Regions from separate parts of the Homo sapiens genome. Here regions 1, 2 and 3 are each linked to region 4. Evidence: promoter capture Hi-C in 16 types of primary human blood cells and fetal thymus (Javierre and others, 2016). All regions are on one chromosome and are shown on one strand. The core of a region is centred on a gene start or on the middle of the fragment in contact, and the rest is flanking DNA. Distances in the headings are between cores, read along the strand shown.

The links. The method cuts DNA at HindIII sites, captures the fragments that hold promoters and counts their contacts. A CHiCAGO score of 5 or more calls a contact.
Region 1: a fragment that was not itself captured here is called in contact with the fragment with the promoter of CFAP65-AS1 in region 4 in 1 of 17 cell types (M1 macrophages); the score reaches 5.4 in M1 macrophages.
Region 2: the fragment with the promoter of ATG9A here is called in contact with the fragment with the promoter of CFAP65-AS1 in region 4 in 3 of 17 cell types (naive CD4 T cells, total CD4 T cells and naive CD8 T cells); the score reaches 6.0 in naive CD4 T cells.
Region 3: a fragment that was not itself captured here is called in contact with the fragment with the promoter of CFAP65-AS1 in region 4 in 12 of 17 cell types (M2 macrophages, endothelial precursors, M0 macrophages and 9 more); the score reaches 12.3 in M2 macrophages.

What each region holds. Positions count from the first base shown.
Region 1 is chr2:219,180,329-219,186,142 of GRCh38, reverse strand. It overlaps RETREG2 (reticulophagy regulator family member 2), which reads right to left. Exons shown (of 9, transcript NM_024293.6): 5 at 5,389-5,473; 6 at 4,938-5,081; 7 at 4,680-4,774; 8 at 4,368-4,503; 9 at 668-4,130. The coding sequence ends at 3,514. Among named protein-coding and RNA genes, the nearest start is that of RETREG2, 5.0 kb to the right of the region's middle. The HindIII fragment of the contact is 631 bases long and covers 1,441-2,071 here.
Region 2 is chr2:219,224,996-219,231,361 of GRCh38, reverse strand. ATG9A (autophagy related 9A) reads left to right here and starts at 1,726. Exons shown (of 16, transcript NM_001077198.3): 1 at 1,726-1,827; 2 at 2,877-2,928; 3 at 3,309-3,440; 4 at 3,549-3,592; 5 at 4,429-4,493; 6 at 5,790-5,951; 7 at 6,150-6,291. The coding sequence starts at 3,338. It overlaps ANKZF1 (ankyrin repeat and zinc finger peptidyl tRNA hydrolase 1), which reads right to left and starts at 1,556. Exons shown (of 14, transcript NM_018089.3): 1 at 1,462-1,556; 2 at 957-1,134. The coding sequence starts at 1,104. RefSeq lists enhancers at 1,362-1,471, 1,142-1,689, 1,690-2,237, 2,238-2,786 and silencers at 1,622-1,751, 1,962-2,011. The HindIII fragment of the contact is 5,267 bases long and covers 1-4,356 here.
Region 3 is chr2:219,141,689-219,147,894 of GRCh38, reverse strand. NHEJ1 (non-homologous end joining factor 1) reads left to right here. Exons shown (of 8, transcript NM_024782.3): 4 at 100-238; 5 at 1,157-1,215. Among named protein-coding and RNA genes, the nearest start is that of NHEJ1, 16 kb to the left of the region's middle. The HindIII fragment of the contact is 763 bases long and covers 869-1,631 here.
Region 4 is chr2:218,999,319-219,006,014 of GRCh38, reverse strand. CFAP65-AS1 (CFAP65 antisense RNA 1) reads right to left here and starts at 3,800. Exons shown (of 3, transcript NR_046086.1): 1 at 3,715-3,800. It overlaps CFAP65 (cilia and flagella associated protein 65), which reads left to right. Exons shown (of 35, transcript NM_194302.4): 32 at 453-581; 33 at 1,560-2,063; 34 at 2,743-2,880; 35 at 2,994-3,169. The coding sequence ends at 3,078. MIR375 (microRNA 375) reads left to right here and starts at 4,307; the gene lies at 4,307-4,370. RefSeq lists enhancers at 3,734-4,028, 5,471-6,454. The HindIII fragment of the contact is 13,795 bases long and covers 1-6,696 here.

The DNA of each region.
Region 1 (5,814 bases), core at 507-3,006, 180 kb before region 4:
ATCCTGCCTCAGCCTCCCCAGTAGCTGGGATTACAGGCATGCGCCACCACACCCGGATAATTTTTGTACTTTAGTAGAGATGGGGTTTCACCATGTAGGCCAGGCTGGTCTCAAACTCCTGACCTTGTGATCCGCCTGCCTCGGCCTCCCAAAGTGCCGGGATTACAGGCGTCAGCCACCGCACCCGGTCCAAAATACCAACTTTTAAGGGAGCAGACAGAGGAAGAGAAGTCCAAGCTGACTTTAGTTGGACATTAAAAGCAAAACATGGTGATAATATTGTCCTTCCATGTTGGAATTATTCTTAGAATTACCGCCCTTGATCATTATACTTTTGCAGATCATTTAAATCTGCTTTGCAATATTCCCTTGACTAGAAAATTAAATTCTACCTAGCACTATTATCAACCAAACTCAACTCGTATCTGCCCTCTGAAGTCCTGCAGACAAACCTTTGAAGTTTGAAGCCAGCTGATGTGAACCAACTCAGCTCTCTTCTTGGATTAGAGATTCCCAGTTCCTCCAACAGTTTGTCCTATGATGATTTTCAGCCTTCATTTCTAGCAGTCATCTCCTGGACATACTACAATTTGCCCACAAGCCTAGCAAGCCATCCTCTGGAAGTATTAGGATATTCGTGCACAGGACACTAGAATTATCACATTTCTTGTTTTGGAGACTACACTTTTATTAATGCAGCCTAAAATTAAGTTTATAAGCAGCAACATTAAACTATTAGCTGTTTGAATACATAGCTAAAATGTACTCCCTCCTCCCCTAACATAAACATGTAGCCAACTCTTCTCCCCTCAGCCTGTACTTTTCCAGTTGATTTTTGTTTAGCCTAATTGTAGGTTTCACATTTCTGCTTTTTTCTTTTACTCATATGAAAACCTCTGGCCCTTTCATCGTGGGGCATGAACCGGCCAAGACACCTGATAATAGAAAAAAAAAATCATAGACAAACATGTAGCAACCATCAGACCATGGTGAATGTAAAGAATAGACCCTCATGAGGCTGGGCGCCGTGGCTCACACCTGTAATCCCAGCACTTTGGGAGGCCGAGGTGGGTGAATCACCTGAGGTCAGGAGTTCGAGACCAGCCTGGCCAACATGGTGAAACCCCACCTCTACTAAAAATACAAAAAATAGCCAGGCATCGTGGCATGCACCTGTAATCCCAGCTACTTGGACGGCTGAGGCAGGAGAATTGTTTGAACCTGGGAGGCAGAGGTTGCAGTGAACCAAGACTGCACCATTGCACTCCAGCCTGGGCAACAGAACAAGACTCCGTCTCAAAAAAAAAAAAAAAAAAACCCACAAAAAACAAAAAACCAAAACAACAACAACAAAAGAATAGACCCTCATGAAACTCCAGGCCTATGGAGAATATTTTGATCCAGCTACAAGCTTCTGGTTCTATTGTCAATGTCCAAGCTTAATAAGAAAATAGATTAAAGATAGGACATGTTGCAGTCATTGCCTGATTAATTCTATTTTTCTTGAATTGCTTGCTTATTGATTAGAACTGTTTTTCCATTCCCCTCTGAAATCTCTAAGTGATGAAAAGTTCGAGTTCCTTTAGTGGCACAGGACAGGGGCTCAATCAAACCCTAGAATGATTCTCAGTCAAATGTGAAGCAAACAGAAAAATTCTTACACACTTAGGAAAGACATGGCATAAAAGTCAACCTCAGAAAGACAGGCAGCATTACCATATGGTACCTCCAGCAGACAGCCAGGCAGCATTACCATATGGTACCTCCAGCAGAAAGACAGGTAGCATCGCCATATGGTACCTCCAGCTGAAGGCGGAGGACATGAACTCATAAAGGAGGCCATCTGCTCAGTTCTGGGCTTTTCTTCCCCAAAGAGGAAGGCTTGCCATGTCCACTCTTTGTTAAGCCAAGGCATCAGATTGGTTCTCTATAGTTCCCACATCCTTGTGCATCTTCCTACCTGTGCCCTATTAATGGACAGGGGCTGTCTGATGCATTTGCTGAAGCCAAAACTTCTTGGGTTTGGGTTCTGGCTCCACAATTTACTGGGACCTGTGGCCTTCAGGAAGCTTAACCTGTCTATAAAATGAAGTTAGTAACAGTATATATCTGACCTGTGAGGAAAAATCTTAATACATATAAATCACTCAGAGCAGAGCCAAGCACATACAATGGACTCAGTAACTGTTAAGATACTATTTCTTCAGTGTTCCTTGGCTCCAACTCATTTCTAACACAGGTAAAGGTCCTCTATTGCTTGTTTGGCTTCCCCAGTAAAGATAAATCCAGGCTGAGTGAGTTGTTAGCATGTAGATGGGTGAAGACTTCTTAAGAAAGCAGTGTTAAGGTTGTAGGCCACATGGTAAAACACAATTTTTATGGTCCCGAATTTCTACCGATTGGGAAGACAAAGCAATTTCCTCCTGCATATACTTTATTCACACATGCTAAATCTCACTAAACAGATCACACTGTCAAGGAAGATGGCTAAGGAGAAGCTAGGGTTGTCAAGGTAATCCTTGCTTCGGCCCTGTTTTGCAACAAGGTAATAAACAGCCAGAACAGACTGGAGTGAAGCAGGTTAAGGGTGAGGAGAGAACACAGTGCAGTGCAGGGTGTGGAAGGCAGCTCACAGTCAGGGAGGCAGCAGTTCTAGCCAATCAACACTTTATTTTTCAAGTCAACACCTGCACAGATGTTAGTGTCCACTTCCTGACCCTAGTAGGGGGTCCCACTACACTTGGATCACCCAGAGGAGCAGTAAGGAAGCTCCTAATCTCAAGAGAGAGCACATGCTCACCAACTCCAGTGCTGGCGCCATGTACTGCGGGATCCCTGCTCTCCTGCATCATGAAAGGCCGGGCTGAATGGGGCAAGGATGCAGTGAAGGTTACACAGACTACAGTGACCTAAGAGTGTAACTACTGGCCTGACCCACTGCCCCAGGTTTACTCTTTACTTCCCAGACCAGGAGCCTCCCTAAAGCTTGGCCAGTGCCCACGGGATAGGAGGAGCTGGCAAAGGATGGGGTTGAGCTGCTAAGGACAGGACACAGCAGGGAAATAAAGCAGAAAGGAACACAAGACAAGAGAAAAATTATAAAGTGCCTCAACTAAACAACCAAGTGGGACATGAGGGCAGAGCAGCACAGGTCCCTGAGGATAGGAGGAAAAAGAAAGGGCCAGACCACCAGGGCTTGGGGCATAGTGGAATGAGAATAGAGATGAGGCAGGGAGGCAAGCGCAGGCTGTGGGAAGGACTTCCCTAGCCCTGTTCACATCCACTAACCCAAATGGAAAATTATTTACAAATTTAAAACCAATCCTAGGCACAGGTACTGCACCATGCCCAGGACAGCAGGCAGGCAGGCAGGCAGAGGGTGGAATAGCTACCATCCGACAGCCAGCTTCCCCACACACTGCCCCACCCCAGAGTGGTAGGCAAAGGAGGAAACAGCAACACTCCTAGCCAGGAAGCCCTACTGTGCCTGCAGCTCCTTCCTCAACGGCTGGCTCATGGCTCTGCCACGGCCTGAGCTTCTTGGTCTGACTGTACCAGAGAATGGATGTCGGGCCCCAGGGGTGGAGCATCAGGGGGTTTTGGCGGTGTCTCTGGCTCCAAGCCCAGCTCTGCATTCAGCTGCTCCAGCTCCCCCTGATCCAGCAACTCAAAGTCCTCAGTGGTGAGTGCCTCTTCTTCCTCAGGGGCAGGCAGGGGCTGGGGTGAGTCCTGGGGAACAGGTGGGAGAATGGAAGGGGAGGGGGCTGGGTCACTTCCAACAAGGCAAAGTGGAGGTGACAGGGTGCCGGGCAGAGCAGTGAGGCCACCACTCACTGTCTCGGGGCTCAGTGTCTCCACTGGTCCTCCAGGGGAGCATTTCACTCCATCTGGGGGGGACCCTGCCCCATTGAAGTGCGTGTTCACAAAGTGGAGGGGGGATGAGAGCCGCAACAAGGTTTCCTTAGCTGCCACATCCTCTTCCTCTTCCTCCGAGTCCAGGGCTTGCCTTGACAGAGCTTGAGGACGGCCTAGTAGGTCTTCGGGAGGGGCCAGCTCTCCCTCCTCTCCCTCCCCTAGGTCCCGGCTTAGGGTCTCCTCTGGTTCACTTGGCAGGCTCTGCTGGTCCAAATCTGTGCAGAGAACAAAGAATTAAGAATGGGCCTGCTGCTGGTCTGATTAGCCACAACAGACAATGAGTTCAAGGATGAGAACTCAAGACATGGAAAGCTGGGCCAAGCCTTAGGTGTTAAGGTCTTTTAGGAGCTGAGAGAATTAGAGAGTGAGTGGGCCAGAGAGCACAGTAAGTACCCATGGTAGGGAACACAAAGATTGTGGCGGGGAGCAGGGCAGCAAAGGGCTCCCCATACCCTCGGAGACATCAGTCAGCTGCGGAGTTGTGGCCCGGGATACGGAGAAGCCACCACTCTCCAAGATAGAAGCCTCCTCATCTGACAGCTCTGAGTCTGTAATGGCCAAGGCCAATGCTGTTTTCTTCACATCCACCTGGCAGGAGAACCAGGATGAACACGACATGTGAGGGGATAAGAGAACCAATTTATCAGGAGCATCCCCTCTCCCAAAACCTCTGGCTTCCACCTCCTTTGGAGGTGGCAGCTCCAAAGCAGAAAGATTTTTCCTCTGGCTTTCTATTTGACACCCCCGCTTTCCCTGGACCTCACCACTGGGGAGAAGCCAGCCAGCTCTGCCTCGCTTTCACTCTCTGTCTCTGCCAGTGGCTCATCACCTCCTGGGGGTGCATTCTTCCCCTGACGCTCTAGAAAAGCAAGAGTAGTAGAGCAATGACCAAGCATGAATGATGGGAGGGGAGACAAACACAGCTAAAGAACTGGAGAAGATCTCAATTCCAGGGCATCTCATGAACCCCAAGCCAAGGCCCTCCCGCTCTTTCACCCTCCTGGCTTAGGGCAGCCCCTTACTCCTCTTGTCGTGTTTGTGATGCAGGGCATTGGCTTCTGCCTTCATGCTGTAGTCCAGCTGCATGAGCAGGGGCTCCAGGCGAGTGTACATCCTCTGGATCAGCTCATGATAAACCACCAGGGGCCACAGCAGGATACTCAACACTATGGGTTAAGAACGTGAACTAAGAGCTCCCTACGCCAATTTCCTAAGAGCCCCCATTCAACTGGTCCCTAAACTGAAGTGCTGAAGGTAGGCAAGGTCCTTTCCCAAGGCTGTGCCAACCTCTTCTTGCCACATCCACTGCCCTCCTCCCCAGGTAAGTCTTCCACAGTTACTAATACTAAAGCATCCCTGGAGATCTCCACAAATCAGAAACTGAGCAGAGAGAGCATAGTCTTCCCTCTGGGTCAGTCCAAGGAAAGAAGAAAGGAGAGGGCTTTAAATAGGGCAGGGACAGACCCTACTCACAGACAATGTAGGAAATCATAATCCCTGGAACATAGTGTCCCAACACAGCCAACACAGCACAGCCAGAGCAGACTCGAACGCAGAACTGCAGAGAAGAGCAAAAGTCTAAGAACATCACGCTGAGATATGCGCCCCGCTCGGCTGGGTAAGAAACTACTGCTCAGCTGGTAGAAGGATGGGTATGTACTCAAGGAATGGGGTGGTCCAGTTTGGTTAAGAGGATGCTCAAGACCACCAATTCAGGAAGCTGGCAATACATAATGCCCACCACCTGTAATTCACACTGGTCTGCCTTGGCAGGAGAAAGTGTCAGGCTATCAAAAGCTTATTTCCTGAGGTGAGACTGCCTCCTGCACCAGGGATTAGCTGTGAATGTTGCCTCAAGAAGGCGCCCAGGCCTCTTCTTTCAGGGTCTCCAAGCGGGGA
Region 2 (6,366 bases), core at 477-2,976, 230 kb before region 4:
GCCCTGGGCATTCTGGAAAAGAATCCGATGAGGGTAAAAGCCTTGGGGTCGGTTAAACTTCTCCAACGTAGCCCTCTCCCGAGATCCAGCGTCTGCAAGTCCTCCCCACTGGCTGAGTTTGAGTCTTGTCTAATTTAAATTAGCCAAACAGATTGTTTAGGTGAATCCTAAAGAAAATAATTTCTGTTCAGTTTAAAATTATTTTTCACTGCACAAAAACTACTTCCCAAATGCTTTTTAAAGTTTACATTTCCAATTAGTGTACAGTTTGTCTAAGGAGAGGTGCAAGAAAAGATGTAGCCAAACTAAAGTTACACAAAACAGGACCGACACGGTGGCTCATGCCTGTAATCTCAGCACTTTGGGAGGCTGACCCAGGCGGATCACTTGAGGCCAGGAGTTTGAGACCAGCCTGGCCAACATGGTGAAACCCCGTCTCTACTAAAAATACAATAATTAGCCGGGCATGGTGGTGCGGGCCTGTAGTCCCAGCTACTCGGGAGGCTGAGGCAGGAGAATCACTTGAACCCGGGAGACGGAGATTGCAGTGGGTGGAGATCGTGCCACTGCACTTTAGCCTGGGCGACAGAGCGAGACTCTCAAAAAATAAAGCTATACGAAACAAATAATAAATTGTTTCATATTCAGCAAAAAGGAATAATTTGAGTGGGGCCTGGTTAAATGTGGAATACATCTGAGAATTTTATCTCTACAAAGTTTAAAGTGTTTTTGAAGGGAATGGTGTTAACGTGAGGAGATACATGCAATGGCAAAAAGACTTGTTTGAAAACAAGGGCTGTGCTGGACATTACCCAGAGATTAAGTGAATTTAATCAAGCAGAAAGATAAATCAATTGGCCTCCTAAGCTCGGGAATACCAATAAGAATGTGTTCCCTGAACGGGCAATACGCTGTAAGGAGCCCTGTCACGTTTCACACGAAACCTTCCAGGATACCTGAACAGGAAGTACGCGGAGCCCGGGCCAGAGCCTCCCCAGGCGCGTGGCTCACCAGGCTCAGGCCCTGAAAGACCGGAGCATCCGCGCTGAGGTCAAACAGGGAGATCGACGCAGGAGCCGGGGCTGCATCTGGAGCCGGCGACATGGCTGAGCAGAAATTATTTAGCAGCAGCTCCTGGAGTAGAAAGCGTGTAAGAAACAGGGCTCCTGCAAACGAGATCCTACTGCTGCGTCTCCTGCCTGCCTGACTTGGTTTCTCCTGCACCGCAAGACTTCTCGTCTCTCATCCTGCTACCAACTGTGAGATGAATACCTTGGCCCCCGTCCACTTTCTCAAACCCCCAGTCTCAGCCCACAAAAGAATGAAATAGGCATTCGGCTCCCAAATCGAGTCCAACAGAGTTAAAAATCACTGAGCTTGCCTAGCCGAACTTTCTTCGTTACCCATGCGACCAGCAACAACTGGCCCGCGTAAACTCGCCCACGCCCTTAGAAGACGCACCAAACGTCCCGGGAGCTGAGCGGCTCGCAAGTCCTCAGGTCGATTGCCGGATTTCTGCAACACAACAATCCCCGTCACTACGGAGCAGCGAAGAGGACAACCGGCGGCGTCCGCACCTGAGCCCCGCCCCACGTAGAGCACACTATTGGGCCGCTGACTGTCCAAGACCCGCCTCGAGACTTTAGTCCCGTCCCTGAAGCCGAGAATTGGCCGTTGTGTCTCCGCCCCCCGTGCTTATTGGCCAGCCTGGCTGCGGGTGACAGTGAGTGGCAGACACCCGGCCTAGCGCCGCGGGTCGCGCCGAGCCGAGCCGAGCCGAGCGGAGCCGGCGGAGCCTCTGGAATCACCCGGGTCGCTGTTCCTGAGGTAAGACGTGAGACCGGTTATTGGAATCCCAGGCCCCGTGTCTGGCCTTGCCCAGGGGTGCCTGCGGAGCCCTAAGTGAGCTCGCGGCGGGTAACGGAGGAAGGGGCGCCGCCGGCGGGGCGGGGGCGCGCAGCCGGAATGTTTTGATTGCTGGCGCGCGCAGACGGGGGCGCGCGCGGGCGCCGGGGCCGCGCGCGAGGTTGTCCGCTGTTGGGAGCTGCCAGCCCTTGGCCTGGGGCCGGGCGACCCTGGGGCGAGGTGGACTCCGGTCCACGGTCGCCGCGGCTGGGTGTGGGGAGGCAAGCCAACCCACCCGGGCTATCAGCTGTAAGGCTGACTCGATCCCTGCAACATCCGCAGGAACCCCTGAGCCCAGGCCCAGCCGGCCGGGGCTCCACGGGCCCTGGTCCACACTGACCCTGTGAGTGGTGACTTCCCTGAGGGGCAGGGCTCTCACTAGCCCAGGGAATCCCACCGGGGCCAGGCTGGGCCAAGATCCACGGCCCCCAGGGGCTGCACGGACAGGTGAGTACCACCTCGACCATGCCTGGCTTACAGGACCTAGGGAACCCACAAATTCACCTAGGATCGGGGGTCTACACTGACCCAGTCAAGGTTTCCCATCCAGAAGGTTTGCTCACCGGCTGGATCTTTGGTGCTAGGGAAGTAAGAGAAGGGGTTGACCAGAAAGGTCCTCTTCAGGAAAGACTCTTGAGGTTTTGTGGACCCTGAGAAGTATGTCATTTCTGAGGCTAAGGTAGGGCAATGGAGAAATAGTCCAGAGGCGCCCCTGGCCTCAGGTCTGTACCCACTCATTCTCCATGGGGTCCCTAAGTTACTTCTTGAGACCCTGGAGTTGGAAGAGTGGCCCGGTTTAGCACAGCCAGAGGAAGTGCTCGTAGTCCTGGGCTGGAAGGGTGCTTCTTCCCCACTGCAGCCTTCCTGCCCCATGCTTGGCCTCCTCTTGGTGGGGTGTGGATGGCTGGGAGGGTTGGGTTCCTTTTTATCCCCACTGCCCACTCTCTGGGGCCTGACATCTTCTCCTCCAGCAGCTGCAGAGCATCGAGGGCTGGAGAGGAGCACATACTGTCCATGGAGCTGGTAGGGCCATGTGCTTTTCTCAAACATTTGTTTGTGAAGTGCTTCCAAACTGTTAGTCTCTTGGGAGACCAGGGTTCCCAGGATGGGCGGGGGAGGGACTCTTCTGTCCGTTAAATAGAAGATGAAACAGCCCCCAACAAAGGGACAGATTCTGGCTTTGGGCCAGGAAAGCAGCAGTAGACACCCAGACTGGCCAGAGTTAAGGCTCCCCCAGCCCTGAGCTTACTGCCTTTCTTGTGTCACTACTCCTCTGCCTCTGAGCCAAGGAGGCTGGTAGTGGACAAAGCCCAAGGGTACTTTCTCCTTTTGGCAGTAGGCAGGGCAGCCCATGGGCAGCAGCTGGAACTGAATCAGGGTCTCTTCTTCCTCCTTATTGGCAGGTGGTCAAGGTGGACAGGGGGCGGTGGTGATGGCGCAGTTTGACACTGAATACCAGCGCCTAGAGGCCTCCTATAGTGATTCACCCCCAGGGGAGGAGGACCTGTTGGTGCACGTCGCCGAGGGGAGCAAGTGTGAGTTCTTGGATATGACAGCCATAGGGAGAGTTGATGGAAGAACATGGAGAGAGCAAGGGGCTTGTGTTCTCCCAGGGCTCTGACATCTCTGTTCCTATCCCACAGCACCTTGGCACCATATTGAAAACCTTGACCTCTTCTTCTCTCGAATATCCTTTGTGTTTCTGAGTTGGAGCTCTGGGACCTTTAATGTCTCTCTAAGCCGGGGCTCTGGTGGGAGGTGGGGGTAGGTTTGACTCTAATACCTGGAAACGGGAATGGAGCTCATCCTGAGGCTGAAAGAGGCTGGTGAAATCATCGTTAAGTAATGATAGCCCACATTTACCAAGATCTGTGTGCCTGTGTCCACTTTGTGGTGTTAATTTGTAGAAGCCTTTCTAAGGGTGAGCCTCCTTTTTTTTTTGTTTGAGATGGAGTCTGTCTCTGTTGCTGCTAGAGTCCAGGGGCGATCTCAACACACTGCAACCTCCACCTCCTGGGTTCAAGAGATTCTCCTGCCTCAGTCTCCCACGTAGCTGGGATTACAGGCACCTGCCACGATGCCCAGCTATTTTTTGTATTTTTCATAGAGACAGGGTTTCACCATGTGGCAAGGCTGGTCTCGAACTCCTGACCTCAAGTGATCCACCTGCCTTGCCCTCCCAAAGTGTTAGGATTACAGGCGTGAGCCACCACACCCAGCCGAGCCTCCTTTTTGATGGGATGTAAATAATCGTAATAAGTAACGTCTTTTGACTCATTCTGTGTCAGCTCTGTGTTAAATGCTTTACATGCATTATCTTAGACCTAATACTCCTATGAGACAAGTGTTATTTATTCCTAATGTACCACCATGGACAGACAAAAGTTTAGACAGGTTAAGTAACTTGGTAAAGTCACACAGCTAGAAAGTCACAGAGCCAGGACTTAAGCTTGAGTGTGTTGACACCAAAGTCTGTGCTCTTACCTGCTTTCTTTACTGACTACTTTTTCTTAACAATTACACGTTTATAATCTGCACCAGAAGAATGGCTTCACATGTATGCTCATCGGGGAGATCTTTGAGCTCATGTAAGTATAAGAAGGGACAGATGATGTGGTGAAAGAATACATCTTAGTCTTTCCTCTCCTTGCACTCACACTTGGCCCAACCTGCCAGTACAACTCAGTCCTAGGCTAAAACTCCGTAAACCTTTGTAGTTCAGGGACTGGGTGTGGCACCAAAACTTACAGCTTCACCTTTCTTTTTTTTTGAGATGGAGTGAGTCTCACTCTGTCGCCCAGGCAGGAGTGCAGTGGTCTTGGCTCGGTGCAACCTCTGCCTCCCAGGTTCAAGTGATTCTCCTGCCTCAGCCTCCTTAGTAGCTGGGACTACAGGCATGTGCCACCATGCCCGGCTAATTTTTTTTGTATTTTTAGTAGAGATGGGATTTCACCAAGTTGGCCAGGCTGGTCTCGAACTCCTGACCTCGGGTTATCTGCCCGCCTCAACCTCCCGAAGTGCCGGGATTATAGGCATGAGCCACCACGCCCGGCCAAGCTTTCTTACAAGAAAAGCTTTCCAAGCCTTATCTCTTCCATGAAAAGAACCCAAGCCTTGGTTGGGCACGGCAGCTCACACCTGTAATCCCAGCACTTTAGGAGGCTCTAAAAATACAAAAATTAGCTGGGTGTGGTGGCACACGCCTGTAATCCCAGCTACTTGGGAGGCTGAGGCACAAGAATCGCTTCAACCTGGGAGGTGGAGGTTGCAGTGAGCCGAGATTGTGCCGCTGCACTCCAGCCTGGCTGACAGAGTGAGACTCTCTCAAAAAAAAAAAGAATGCAGGCCTTGACCTTGATCATCTCAACGCTCCAATGGAACGTACATTGTTCAGTCAGGAGGTCTCAGAGATGCCAGCCACAGAGAAAAGCCTCTGTTCTGCCTTGCCTGTTCCATGGCCTGCTCCTAGGCAGAGAGCCTCCTGGGAGAGAGAAGCCATATAGCATTGCCGAAGGGGAAGGGGTTAGGAAGCCCTCCCTCAATCAGAAAACTCCCCCAAGGGCTTTTAACTACAACCTCAAAAGGAAATCAGAGACTGGAGATCAGAGACCCACAGGATGAAACCTTCGAGAGTCCAGTAGTGGTGGCTGAGGTTACCATGAGGTGAGGAAAGTAGGCTGCAGCTGTGGCAGCTGAGGCTAAGAGCAAAGAGTGGGCCTGAGACAGTCCTGTGGGGCTGAGGAGCAGAGAGGGCCCACTGGGAGTTCTCCAGGCCCTTCCAGTTCCCAGTCTTGTTCTGCCACCTCCAGACTCTCCTCTTCCCACTGGGTTTCACTGGAGCCTCTCTGGCTCTCAGACTGCACCCCTTCTTCCCAACTCCCCAGGCAGTTCCTCTTTGTGGTTGCCTTCACTACCTTCCTGGTCAGCTGCGTGGACTATGACATCCTATTTGCCAACAAGATGGTGAACCACAGTCTTCACCCTACTGAACCCGTCAAGGTCACTCTGCCAGACGCCTTTTTGCCTGCTCAAGTCTGTAGTGCCAGGTAAGGGCTGCAAGTCAAGAGGACACCATAGCCTTGAGTTCTGCTAGCAGGTGGGTAATAGAGTGGAGTCTGAGGCAGCAACTCATACTCCAGAACTGACTCAGGCTTGGTCTAGCAAAAATACTTCAGGATAGCAGCGTCTCTGCCAAGACTCCTTCCTCGAGGGCCACCTCTCCTCCCCTTCTTTTTCCCCACCAGGATTCAGGAAAATGGCTCCCTTATCACCATCCTGGTCATTGCTGGTGTCTTCTGGATCCACCGGCTTATCAAGTTCATCTATAACATTTGCTGCTACTGGGAGATCCACTCCTTCTACCTGCACGCTCTGCGCATCCCTATGGTAAGACTGGGAAGTTGGGCAGTTAGCCCATAGTCTAAGACGTATTGGGAGGTGTGGGTGTATTCCTGGGCATCA
Region 3 (6,206 bases), core at 1-2,500, 140 kb before region 4:
AAGAACATTTATTTTTCGGTATTTTTTCTGGTACCTAATACTGAATTGGAAAGTACTTTATAAGAGTCTTTTGGCTAATTGATATCTCTTCCCTCAAAGGTCTCCCAACATTTGATTCGTCCTCTGATGGGCATGAGTCTGGCATTACAGTGCCAAGTGAGGGAGCTAGCAACGTTACTTCATATGAAAGACCTAGAGATCCAAGACTACCAGGAGAGTGGGGCTACGCTGATTCGAGGTAAGAGGACATTCTTGGAGGAGTTGGGTGGGGCGTGTTAAAAATAGTCAAAGGGTCTTAGCAAAGAGGGAGACTCATTTGCATTAGAGAAGTGCCTCCCCCAGGATGGGTGCTGAATACTAACCAGAAACTGGAGTCTTGATATTAGGTGACTCTTTTTTGTTTGTTTGTTTTGGAGACGGAGTCTCGCTCTGTCAGCTAGGCTGGAGTGTAGTGGTATGATCTCAGCTCACTGCAACTTCCGCCTCGTGGGCTCAAGCGAGTCTCCTGCCTCAGCCTCCCGAGTAGCTGGGATTGTAGACGCACGCCACCATGCCTGGCTAATTTTTTTGTATTTTTAATATAGACGGGGTTTCACCATGTTGGTCAGGCTGGTCTCGAACTCCTGACCTCAAGTGATCTGCCTGCCTTGGCCTCCCAAAGTGCTGGGATTACAGGCGTGAGCCACCGTGCCTGGCCTAGGTGACACTTTTCTCTGCCTCGAGTACCTGGCTGGAGCCCAAGTGGCCAATAGAAGCTGTAACCGAGTCCAGACATGCCCTAGGCAATGGCAGGGAAAGACTTTGGAAAGGAGCCAATAGCTATACAGAATTGTACCAGAGCAACATGGACTTGGGAGTTTAGGAAGCTTCATGGCTCCAACTTCAGAATAAAAATTCAATTTGGCCTTTGTTTTTGTGGCAGGAAAAACTCCTAGAGCAGATGCTGCCACCAAACCTGCCATTTATTGCTAATCACCCTCTCCCACTACTTTTTGCCCACATGCTCTCAGCCCTTCTTCTCCCACTGAACTAGGTGTCTCTGCATGATGCACCTTCCTCCTCTTTCCTAAGTAGCCCTGTTCTGTTCCCTTTCCATCAGGTAAGAAACTCATCCTGTATGACTCATATTTCTTTTTTCTGATCCTTCTTATTACAGATCGATTGAAGACAGAACCATTTGAAGAAAATTCCTTCTTGGAACAATTTATGATAGAGGTAAGGTATTTGTCATTTTCTTGTGTGTCTTTGCCCTACTTCCTCTTTCCAGGTGCCTGAGTGGCCATTTGTGTTTTGGGTGTTAGGTGGCTTGTGTGGTTGGAATGCCCTTTGTCTGAAAAAGTTGCCCATAGAAAGTCTGATAAGGCTTGAGATGTACTTAGGGAAGATGAGGGAAAAAACGGGGAAAGAACGTAAGAGGCGGAAGTGGACTGATTGATATTTATAAAACATCTCTGTTAAAGTACCAGGGATTTCATTTGGAATTCTCTAACCTTGGAAAGGTTGGTTGACCAGTTATTAAATTTTTGCTTGTTGAGATCTGGTCGTAAGGTCTGGACTGTGGAGGAGAAGGGTAGGCGTCATTACTTGTCTAGGCCCTTTCAGGATCCTGCAGGAGAGGAAGGTAAAAAGCTTAGGGCTACCATTTGGGGGCTGTCTTGTGGGCACAGTAGGTTGTGGAAAATCACAGTGTTTATACAAGGGGACTGGCAAAGGAATGAATGGGGAGTAGATAATTGTGGCCTGTCAGAAGCTCCTGCCTAGGTTTCCCTTCTAAGGATTGAGCTCAGCCAAAAGAAACATCTATTAAATGCCAAATAGGGAAAGTATTAATAATAGTGACCTTTGATAATGCCAGTCAATATTGATCTTCTCCTTCCCTCCCTCTTCTGTGACTTGTTGGTTGTACAGTTAGTACCTTAGTATTATTGCCCCATTTTCTTTTTTTTTTTTTTATTTTTTTTTGAGATGGAGTTTCACTCTTGTTGTCCAGGCTGGAGTGCAATGGTGCGATCTCGGCTCACAGCAACCTCCGCCTCCCGGGTTCAAGCGATTATCCTGCCTCAACCTCCTGAGTAGCTGGGATTACAGGCATGTGCCACCACACCCAGCTAATTTTGTATTTTTAGTAGAGATGGGATTTCTCCATGTTGGTCAGGCTGGTCTGGAACTCCCGACCTCAGGTGACCACCCACCTCGGCCTCCCAAAGTGCTGGGATTACAAGTGTGAGCCACTGCGCCCGGCCTATTGCCCCATTTTCTAATTATATATGTTACCCAAGTTGGTACTTTATCATGTAAGTAAATAATGCTATTATAATCTGGTATTATGTATAGATTATTTGTATTTCTTTATTGTCTTCTAGATTAATTTGTAAGCTCTTTGTGGACAGGGTCTGTGTCCCGTACCTCTTTTGAACCCTAAATTAGCACTTTTTAAAGGGCTAGGCATAAAGCAGGTATTCTTTATTTGGAACCTCCTGTTCTGCCTCTGTGCATTGACTGAGCTACAATGCTTGGGGTCTAAACACTAAAAGCAAAAAATGTGAGGTAGGTGCTCAGTCCAGGTACTGAAGCAATTGTAAGTCTGAAGAAGAAGGAAAACTTGTATTGCTAAGTCCTGAAAGAGAAAAGGTTTCAAGTCTTTTTGTTGTTGTTGTTGTTGTTGTTGTTGTTTTTGAAACGAAGCCTCACTTGCTCTGTCACCCAGACTGGAGTGCCATGGCACAATCTTGGCTCACTGCAACATCCCTTTCCCAGGTTCAAGCAATTCTCCTGCCTCAGCCTTCCAAGTAGCTGGGATTACAGGTGCGCACCACCACACCCAGCTAATTTTTGTATTTTTAGTAGAAACGGGGTTTCGCCATGTTGATCAGGCTGGTCTTGAACTCCTGGCCTCAAGTGATCCACCCTCCTTGACCTCCCAAAGTACTGGGATTATAGATGTGAGCCACCATGCCTAGCCTAGAAAAGGTTTCAAGTTTTTATGGGTAAAGAGAGACCGTTAAACCTAAACTTGTGACTAAGAGAGATTTCTTAGGCCGTTTTTCTCTTAGATAGCTTCCCCTGTCTATAAGTTTAGGTATCAAGGCTGGGGATAACATGCTGGTTCCCTGCCTCATCCCCTTAGTTAAACAATGCAAGGCTTGTTCTTAGCTCAGTAGAGAGGTCTCTTCCTGATCTAGTGCCTGCATACCTCTCCAGCTTGACTTCTTGACATTTTTCTCTGTGTACTTTATGCCTTAGCTATATGGAATGACTTTTAATTTGCCCCAATGCTGTTTCATCTTGTCTTTAGATACACATTCTTCCCATGATCTAGAATGTCCAATGTTCTGGCCTTATCTAACTTGCAAACTTCTATTAATCTTCTAGATGTCAGCTTCACCTTGTTTGGGAGACCGTTCTGTACTCTGCTTGTAAAGACTATTCTTCTTCCCTGCTACTATAGTACCTTGGATTATACCTCTGTTTTACCACTTATAACATTGTAATATTACTGTTTGTATGCCTGCAAGACTATGGCTTTCTCCTCCACTGATCTGTGGACTCTTTGAGGCAAGGACCATGCTGAATGCATTTCTATATCCCCAGCACTGTGCGTGGTGCCTACAGGTAGTAAGTCTTCAATAAGTTTGGATTAATATTTTGATAAGTCTATGCTAGGGGGATTTTATACAGATTATGACACTGTGGCCTGTGGATACAGTGTTGCTTTTTTTTGGCTGGAGTGCAGTGGGGTGATCTCGGCTCACTGTAATCTCTGCCTCCCGGGTTCAAGAGATTCTTGTGCCTCAGCCTCCTGAGTAGCTGGGATTACAGGTATGCACCACCACACCTGGCTAATTTTTGTAGTTTTAGTAGAGACAGGGTTTTACCATGTTGGCCAGGCTGGTTTTGAATGCCTGGCCTCATGTGGTCCGCCCACCTTGGCCTTTCAAAGTGCTGAGATTACAGGCGTGAGCCACTGCACCTGGCTCAGTGTTGCTTATTAGACCTATATTTGGGGTCTTCAGTTATTCTCATGGCTCATTTTGCAGCTTTGGATAAATCACTTCTCATTTATAAAATTAGAGGCTCATCGTTTTCATACTATGGGGTTGGGAGGAGCCCTGCGGAATTGAATGAGAAAGCATACAGAATTTAGGTGGCAGCACAGGAAGAGTATCAGTGTTTTGGAACCAGCTACTTCAAGAATACTGGTCCTGTAGGTTCTGGGTGGATCAACCTCATAGACTTGTAGAATTTTATTATATCTGGAAAGGAAGTGAGAGATAGGTAGTTGTAGTTACAGCTTTCTATTTTATAGATGAAGAAGTTGAGCCTCAGAGAGGTTAAGTGACTTGCCTAAGGTCATATAGCTGTAGCTTTATGTTTAGGACTTCTCACATTTCTTGACACATAGTCTAGGATTATCCCTGTTTTGTTTTGCTAGTTTAACTGGTTGTACACACCTGTTAGGGGAGACATAAGGGCTGGGGTAATATGGAATTCTTGTGACCTCTGGGGTCATTGCACTGTCCTCAGAATGTCCTGTATAGCTGCTGGAACTGAAAGGTTTCCTACTGGGGCTGTAGAACTTCTTATGACTACTGCATCTTTTTAGTTACTCTGCTTGCCCGGGGTCCTACAAACAGGACACAGAAGGGTCATGGGGTCACCCAAGACTGAACTGAAAGGATGTGCCATCAAAATAAGCAAGATGGAATAGGAAGATAAACAAACCAGGGAGAGAGCTCAAGATGAAGGCGCAGGGGGGCCAGGGCTGGTGTCAGAGGGCCATGCGGTCATTGCCTGGGGTCAGTTTTTAAAATTCTCATTGGGATTATTACTAGGCAAGAGGCTATAGACAATAAGGCACAGGGGACAGTAGGCCAGGCAGGTGGCTAGGATACTAAGGCTCGGGAAAATAAGAATTGAACAGGGGTTACTTCTCCCTATTTGGTCCTTTTGTTTTTCCACTCTGTCTAAGAGCCTCTGATTTCTCAATTCTGGGGAACCCAAGGAGCCAGTTGATAGTGGCCTAACTAGAGGGTGATACTGACAATATTGACTCAAGTCAAGCCTGGGTGGGATGCCTGTTGGCATGATCTTCATGGAGGCCAAGAACCCTATATAGGGCATTTTGTAGGACTGGGGGTTGAGAGGCATCTTTAGGAGTGAAAGAAGAGTCAGGGACTTAGGGACTGTTGTTACACGGCAGTAGGAACTATATGAAAAAGGAAGTTTAGGATGACTGGGCAGAGCCCACTCTCAGTCTAGTCCACTGGAGGGAGTTCCTTCCCCTGGCCCTGTCCATGCCTCGCTCTCTCCATCTGGTTGCCATCAGGCTGTGTGGCTGCTGGCGGGCTCTTTATTTATTTATCCCAGTGTAATGGGGTGAGGAGGGAGCTGGCCTAAGGCTGGCATTCCAAGGCCATGCCACTGAGCCACAGGCAGTTTGCATGGGTGTGTGAGTCACTGGGGCTGCATGCTGCTCAAACCAGACGCGGCCAGGCTCAGGGACAGCAGGCAGCCCAAAATAGAGCCCCGCCCTCTACAGCTGGCAACCCCTGGCTAGGAATCAGCCCTTGACACCAAAACCTGGGCAGTTGCTTGAAGTTGGCTTCCTTTGGTAGGGGTCCCTTAGCAGAGATGGAGATTTTGCAATTCTCTACTCTTCTCTCCTCTTCTCTTCTCTTCTCTTCCCTGCAGTCGTTCTTACTGCTGCATTCTGAATGCCTTATAAGTCTTAATCTGTTCAGTATAATACCTTAGCTAAGAAATTAGGGGGCTATAGTTAACATTGATTTGACTTAGCATCCTAAGTGCAGCCATGGTTGTTATATTCTGCCTAGTTTTAGTTACTGTCTTCAGCTCCTGTCTGGTTGCAGCCTGATTCTAGAGCAGATACTTTAAACTATGAAGAGAGTCACTGCTGCTCTTACGAAGCTAGAGCTTATATCGCCTGGGGAAGATGGGCAATGCTTTAACTTGAAAATTGCCATCTTGTTAAGCTTGTTCACACTTCTAATTGGTTTCTTTGGCTGGCTCTCCGTCTTCTGCCTGCCTCTTAAAGGTTAGTGTTTCCCAGGATCAGGTCCCTGATCCTCTGAGACTTCACTTTCCTTCCTCTGGGTCATCTCATCTAGACCCCAGTGTCAACTATTGTTGGTACATCGCTGAATACCAATTTTATATCTCCACTGTGTTTTAGGCCCATATTTCTT
Region 4 (6,696 bases), core at 2,551-5,050:
TCTTGGGAAGGCAGGGGTCACCTTCCTCTTCTCTCTGTCCCCTCTTCCACTCCAGAGCAGGGGCTGCCCAGACCCAACCCATGGTGAGGGGTGGAGCATGGGCAGCAGCAGTGGGGCTCATTGAGCGCCTCTGGGCCCAGGATGCCCCATTACTGCTTAGGCCCTTTTAGGAGGGGGACAAAGCAGCCAGAGCCCCCTGGGGAACACACCTAGGCAGCCCCTACCCCTCTTTGTTCCTTCTTTTTCCAACTGGGAGTCTCTCTAGCTCCCGTGCTAACTCTGAGGGTTTGAGCTTGGTTCTCTGAACCCAGTAGCACTACATTTGGGTTAAGGCTGGGAGTGCCTCAAACTCATCTGTGTCCTCATCACTGGGCAGCTACCACCACTGCTTGTGCCCCCAACCCCAGCATGGTGGCTTGCCCAGGCCACTCAGAATGTCATGGCTGCCACAGGGAGCTGCCAAAGAGGAAGGCCCCCAGGGAAGAGTCAGAGACTTCTGAGGAAAAATCCCCTAACAAGTGGGGCCCTGTTTCCAAGCAGAAGAAGCAGCTCCTGGTTGACATTCTCACCACAATAATCAGGTACCAGCTCACACCCTGGGCCCTCATTGCCACCTTCGCATCCCTCCAGCTCATTCAGCCAGAGCCCCTTACATTCCAGCACTCTTCCTTTCTTGAGAAATAGAACTTGGTGGGGCATGGAGGTTCTTGCCTGTAATTCCAACACTTTGGGAGGCAGCAGTGGGCGGGTGGCTTGAGCCCAGGAGTTTGAGACCAGCGTGGGCAACATAGCAAGACCCCATCTCTACAAAAAATACAAAAATTAGCTGGACATGGTGGTGCATGCCTGCAGTCCCAGTTACTTTGGAGGCTGAGGTGCGAGGATTGCTTGAGACCATTAATTAGCTTAATTAACTGAGAGGTTGAGGCTGCTGTGAGCCATGATCACACCACTGTACTCCAGCCTGGGAGACAGAGCTTTTTTTCAAAAAAAGAAAAGAAAAGAGAAAGAAAGAAAGAGACAAAGACAGAAAGAGAGAAAGAAAGAAAGAGAGAGAAAGAAAGAAAGAAAGAAAGAAAAAAGAGGAGAGAAAGAGAGAGAAAGAAAGAGAGAAATAGAGAGAGAGAGAAAAGAAAAAAAGAAACAGAACTTCTTTGCAAGATCCCACCACGGTCCCCCCCCCCGGCCCCCCCACCCCAGGACAGTGGGGCTCTGATGGAGCTGGCTGGAGGGATTCTCAGGTCTGGATCCTGAGTTCTGCCCCATTCCAGGGCTGGCAGATGAGTCTGGAGCCAGTCCACTATCTCCCCAGGGTTCCTGCCCATCATGTGTGTGAATCTGACCTGCCCTGCCTCCAGCATACCATGTTCGCTTCTAAAAATCCATGAGGCTCAAAGATGTCTTCCTTGAAAGAAGGGACAGGAGGAACAACTGACCAAGGGCTCCCCTCTCCCCACCTAGCAGCCCCTTTCCCACCTAGAACCTAGCTCTGAAGCCAGGGCTCCCCAGGGGCTTCAGGGCCCCTCAGCAAGGGCCTTCTCCTTCTCCCTGCCACCTAGGGGCCTGCTGGAAGACAAGAACTTCCATGAGGCTGTGGACCAAAGCCTGGTGGAGCAGGTGCCGTACTTCCGCCAATTCTGGAATGAGCAGTCAACTAAGTTCATGGACCAGAAAAACAGCCTGTACTTAATGCCAATCCTGCCTGTACCCTCCAGCAGCTGGGAGGATGGGAAGGGCAAGCAGCCGAAGGAAGACAGACCAGAGCACTATCCAGGGTTGGGAAAGAAGGAAGAGGGGGAGGAGGAGAAGGGTGAAGAGGAAGAAGAAGAGTTGGAGGAGGAAGAGGAGGAAGAAGAGGAGACAGAAGAGGAGGAGTTGGGCAAGGAGGAGATAGAGGAGAAGGAGGAGGAGAGGGATGAGAAGGAAGAGAAAGTGAGCTGGGCGGGCATCGGGCCCACACCACAGCCTGAGTCCCAGGAGTCCATGCAATGGCAGTGGCAACAGCAGCTGAATGTCATGGTGAAGGAGGAGCAAGAACAGGACGAGAAGGAGGCCATCAGAAGGTGAGCAGCCAGGCCCCAGTGAGGACGGGAGGGAGGCGAAGTGCAGAAGGTTCCTAGGAGGCAGTGGGATGCCAAGGATGGCTGCTGCCTGTATGCACATCTCATCCTAATTCAGTGCTTAGTGAGGTCATGTTGGTAGCTTAAGGCCTCTGTGGGAGTATCCGCCCGGCACCAACACTGAACTTTATTCTTTTTTCTCTAAGAACTAGTTGTTGACATTTACCAACTTACCAGGAGAATTGTTATAGTCTGCAAAGTCTTGTAAATGGGCTTCTAGAGCCAGAAAAGGACCACCTGTCTTGCAGGTGGGACTTCCCGCCGGGGCTGCCCTACAGATGATTTATGTCATTGTAGGGATTCCCTAGGCCCCACCCAGTCCCTTCTGCGCCCTCTCATCACTTCCCTACCTTTCTCTAAACTTGGCCCTGAGATGCCTACTACATCGCCTGGGTTTGAATCCCACCCCTTAAACCAGCAGCATATTTGGCAACTTGGAATCTTTTAGCCACACTTGGAACGTCCGTAACATTGAAACAAGAATGCCCCATAGTGTAGTGGATGAGGGGAGTCGAATGGGAATCTCCGTAGAGCTCGCGGCACAATGTACCGCACGGACAGGCGAGCGAGGAGGCGCGCGGGCACTGCGGCCGCCCTCATGCTAGCCCCCGCCCCCTCGCAGGCTCCCGGCCTTCGCCAACCTGCAGGAGGCGCTGCTGGAGAACATGATCCAGAACATCCTGGTGGAGGCGAGCCGCGGGGAGGTGGTACTCACCTCGCGGCCACGCGTCATCGCCCTGCCGCCGTTCTGCGTGCCCAGGTAAGGGCGCCGGGACCAGCGGCCGCGCAGACCGCGCGAGAGGGGCCACGGGGGCAGCCAGGCTCTGCCCGAAGCCTCGCCCCCACGCCTACCTGGGACTTTTTGTCTTCCAGGAGTCTGACCCCGGACACGCTGCTGCCGACGCAGCAAGCAGAGGTACTCCACCCGGTGGTGCCACTTCCTACCGACCTTCCGTAAATGCCCGCGCCCAGCCTCTCCGACATGCCGCTAGGGGTCACGCCTGGCCCCCTCTCCACCGCCAGTAAAAGCATCTAGTCTTTTTTCTGTATCTACCTTGACTTTATTTCCCCGACGAGGGGGAACGCGCGCGCGAGCTCTGAGAGGGAAGGATGGCAGGGAGCAGCCCGGGCGGACTGCAGAGGCGCGGCGGGAACTTAGGGCCCGGGAGGATGCACCTCTCCGCCCACACTGCAGCTGGACTGAGACCTGGCCGCTAGCTGCCGGCCGCTGGACCGGGTCTGGCCAGTGGAGGGCGCTCCGGACGGGGCCTGGCTGGCCTTTGCCCCAGCGCACCTTGGTGCACAGTAACTGAGTGCCAGGCCTGGCCAGCGAAGCAGGTGTCCACTGGGCAGGGCGGCCACCCCTCACCTTTCCGCGCCGCGCCTGCTCGGAGGCTTAGCACCCCCAGGGCCAGCCCCTTAGCATTTGCCGAGCTCCGAGTGCCCAAGAGGCTGGGGAGGAAGAACTGAGGCACGCCGCGGAGGGCCAGGAACTAGGCTGGGGCGGGTCGAGGTCACCACTGGATTTCGGGCCACAGACCCTGCTAAGCGACTCCCACTGTGAATCAGTCCTCAGACGAGGATGGATACCCACCTCTCGGTTCCTCCTAACCCCCGCCCGGGAGCTTCTGTCCTCTGCTTCTCGGCTCCTCCCTCCCAGAGGCAGGTGGGTGGAAAAGTGACATCTGGTGTTGTTCCAGAGGCGCCCAGGGTCCCCAGCACCCTCCCCTCCGCCCCCGCCACCAAGGCCTCGGAGAAGCTCCGGTCTCAGAGCCCGGGCGGGGGAGGGGGGAGCGCTCCGCCTCCATGAGTCAATATTTGCCCCGAGCAAACGGGCGCCTGGACAGGTGTGAGTGTGTGTGTCTGGGGGCGGGGACTGAACAGGCAGTATAAGAGCACACGGAGCCCGGGCTCCGGGACAAGCTCCAAGGCGTGGGCTGGGGACGAAGCCAAGCTAGGCTGGGCCGGGCGGAGGGGCCAGGAAAGCCGGGCGGAGGGTGGCTGGGAAAGGAGGGGCGGGCCAGGTGCGCACCTGCGGTGGCCGCCGCGGCCGCCGACGTGTCAGCCGCAGATGCGTTCAGGTGAGGGCGGAGGCTAGCGGGGCGCTGTGCAGCACTGAGCTCGCGGAAGACCAGGACCAGGAGATCACCGAGGGCGACCGCCAGGCCCCGGGCCCTCCGCTCCCGCCCCGCGACGAGCCCCTCGCACAAACCGGACCTGAGCGTTTTGTTCGTTCGGCTCGCGTGAGGCAGGGGCGGCCTCTCAGCACCAGCCCGGGGGCCGGCCTGATCGCCACGCAGGCACCTGCCGCCGCCACCGCCACCGCCATCTCAACCGTACGGGTGGGAGAGGCTGTGCGCCGCTCCAGGGGAGATCCGGCTCCCATCCGGCCCCACCCGCCCTGCCTTGCCCTGCCCGCAGCTTCTGGGCTGCCAGGCTCCATTCTGCGTCGTAATACGGGCTGAGCCGGCTCCAGCGGGTGGCGAAGGGGGCCGTGGCCCAGAACAGAAACCCTTCTGGAGGTGGAAACCCGGATTCTAGTCCGCCTCTGTCCCCGCGACTTCTATGGCCTTGGGCAAGTCATTTCCCGGCCTCTTGGTTTTCCCATTTGCTCAGTGAACGGTTGGTCTGGCCTCCCGCAGGGGCTAGGCCCTCCCCAGCCTCCTGTCCCGGTTCCTGGGCTCCTGGTCATGCTGGGGAAGATGCAGGCCCTCACGGAGTTGGAGCCAAGGCTGAGGTGTGGAAAATCTGGGCGGGGGAAGCTGAGGGCCACCATGGAGCCTCAAATCCACTCCTCGGATCTCTGTGGTGCTGCTGACATCCTGAGATGTCACTCCCTGACACTCCCTTGGTCCCTCTTTCAGTCTAAAAACGTCTGAGACAGTCAGACTGACTGAAAAGGACAAGCCCCCAGGCACAGCGGTTCACCACCTTCCTCAAACCTCAGAATCCCACATCCTCGCTTCCATCAGCTGGGGTGGGGTAGGTAGGTGGCCCTCAGCTCAGGCAGAGGCAGCCCCGGGAGATGGGAACCAGGGTCAGAAGTCCCTCCAAACTGCATGTTCCTAGAGGTGCTGGATTGTCCCCTCCACCACCACCCGCTCTAGTGCCCCTATGTCACCCAACTACCCAGAGGCCCCAAAGGATCTGCTGAGCCCGAGTCCGTGGCACAGAGAGAGAAGGGGGAGGGGCGAGATGGCGTTGGACAGATCCCAGGCAGGTTTAGGGAGAGGGTGGACTACAGCAGGGCTCTTCGTGGAGCAGCCCCAGGGGCAGGGGAAGGTCCTTGGGTCCTGGGCTAGGGTGTGTGCAGCCCTCTCCTGGCCCCCCTGACCAGGCTCTGTCCTGGGCCAGCCCTTTACTCTGCCTGGCACTGAAAGATTTGCCTGTCAGGGGCCTGGCATGGTCCTGGTGCACCTTCCCTGTGTCTTTGAGGGCTTCCCCTTCCCTCCCCAACCATGTCAGGGGCCAGGATTCCACATCCTGGGTTTGCACAACAAAGAGATCTCTGCTTGGAATGACCCCCTCCCAAACACACACACACACACACACACACACACACACACAGCCTTGAGGGGAGGGTGGTGAGAAGGAGGCAGCCACCCAGTGGGCGGGGATCTTTCCTGGTGACTGAGAATTACTGCCCCTTCACCCCAGGGCCTAATTTCCCCAGTCCCCCACCCACTATCCATCCTAAGACTGCAGTTGCTGGCCATTACCAGGGATCTGGCCTCTCATCCAGGTCCCTCCTCCGCTGCTCCGCTGCCACAGGGCGGGGTCTCCCAGTGCCGGGCAGGCCTGCAGGTGCGGGGCTGCATGGGGAGGGGGGCACTCAGCAGCTGCTGTACGAGGCAGGCCCCCTCCCCCTCCTGCTCAAAGCTGGAGCCTGCTTCCTGTCGTCCCTGTCAGCACCCTGGGTGGGGGAGGGACCAGGTAGTGGGGGAAGTGGAAAAGGGATTGAGCGGTTGGAGTGCAGCAGCTGAGAAACAGCAGAAGAGAAATGGAGAAGGATGAGAAAGAGACCAAGAGCATAGGCTGAAGGAAAGAGGGGTGTGAGAACACAGGGGAGATCCCAGGGGCTGCAGAGGCTGCAGACCCTAGACTGTGAGAGCGAGACCAGAGGCAGAGATGACCAGAGAGAAACCAGGGAAGAGGAACAGAGAGAGACACATGGAGACAATTCAAGATAACAAGAGATGTACGCTGAGAGAGATTGGGGATGTGGATTCATGGGGCTAGGGCTCAGGGGACCAGAGGCGGGAGGCATCGTGTGTATGGAGAAAGGGGGAAGCTGCAAAACAGCCCCATCCCACCCCAAACTAGGGTGGGAATTAGCCCCAGCAAAGGATAAAGAGGTGATTTCTAGGTGGCAGACAGGTTTGGAGGTGGGGGGAGGGTGATACCCTTATCTTGGAAGCCCATCTCCTCCCATTAAAGGACAGAATGTGAGGGAGGGGCAAGGCCCAGGCCGTGGCTGGACACCAGGGGCCAGTGAGGGGCACAGATCTGACTCCATCTCTCTGAGTTTCCCTCTTGGCCACAGATGGACAAGCCAACAGCTATGGCAGCTGCCCTG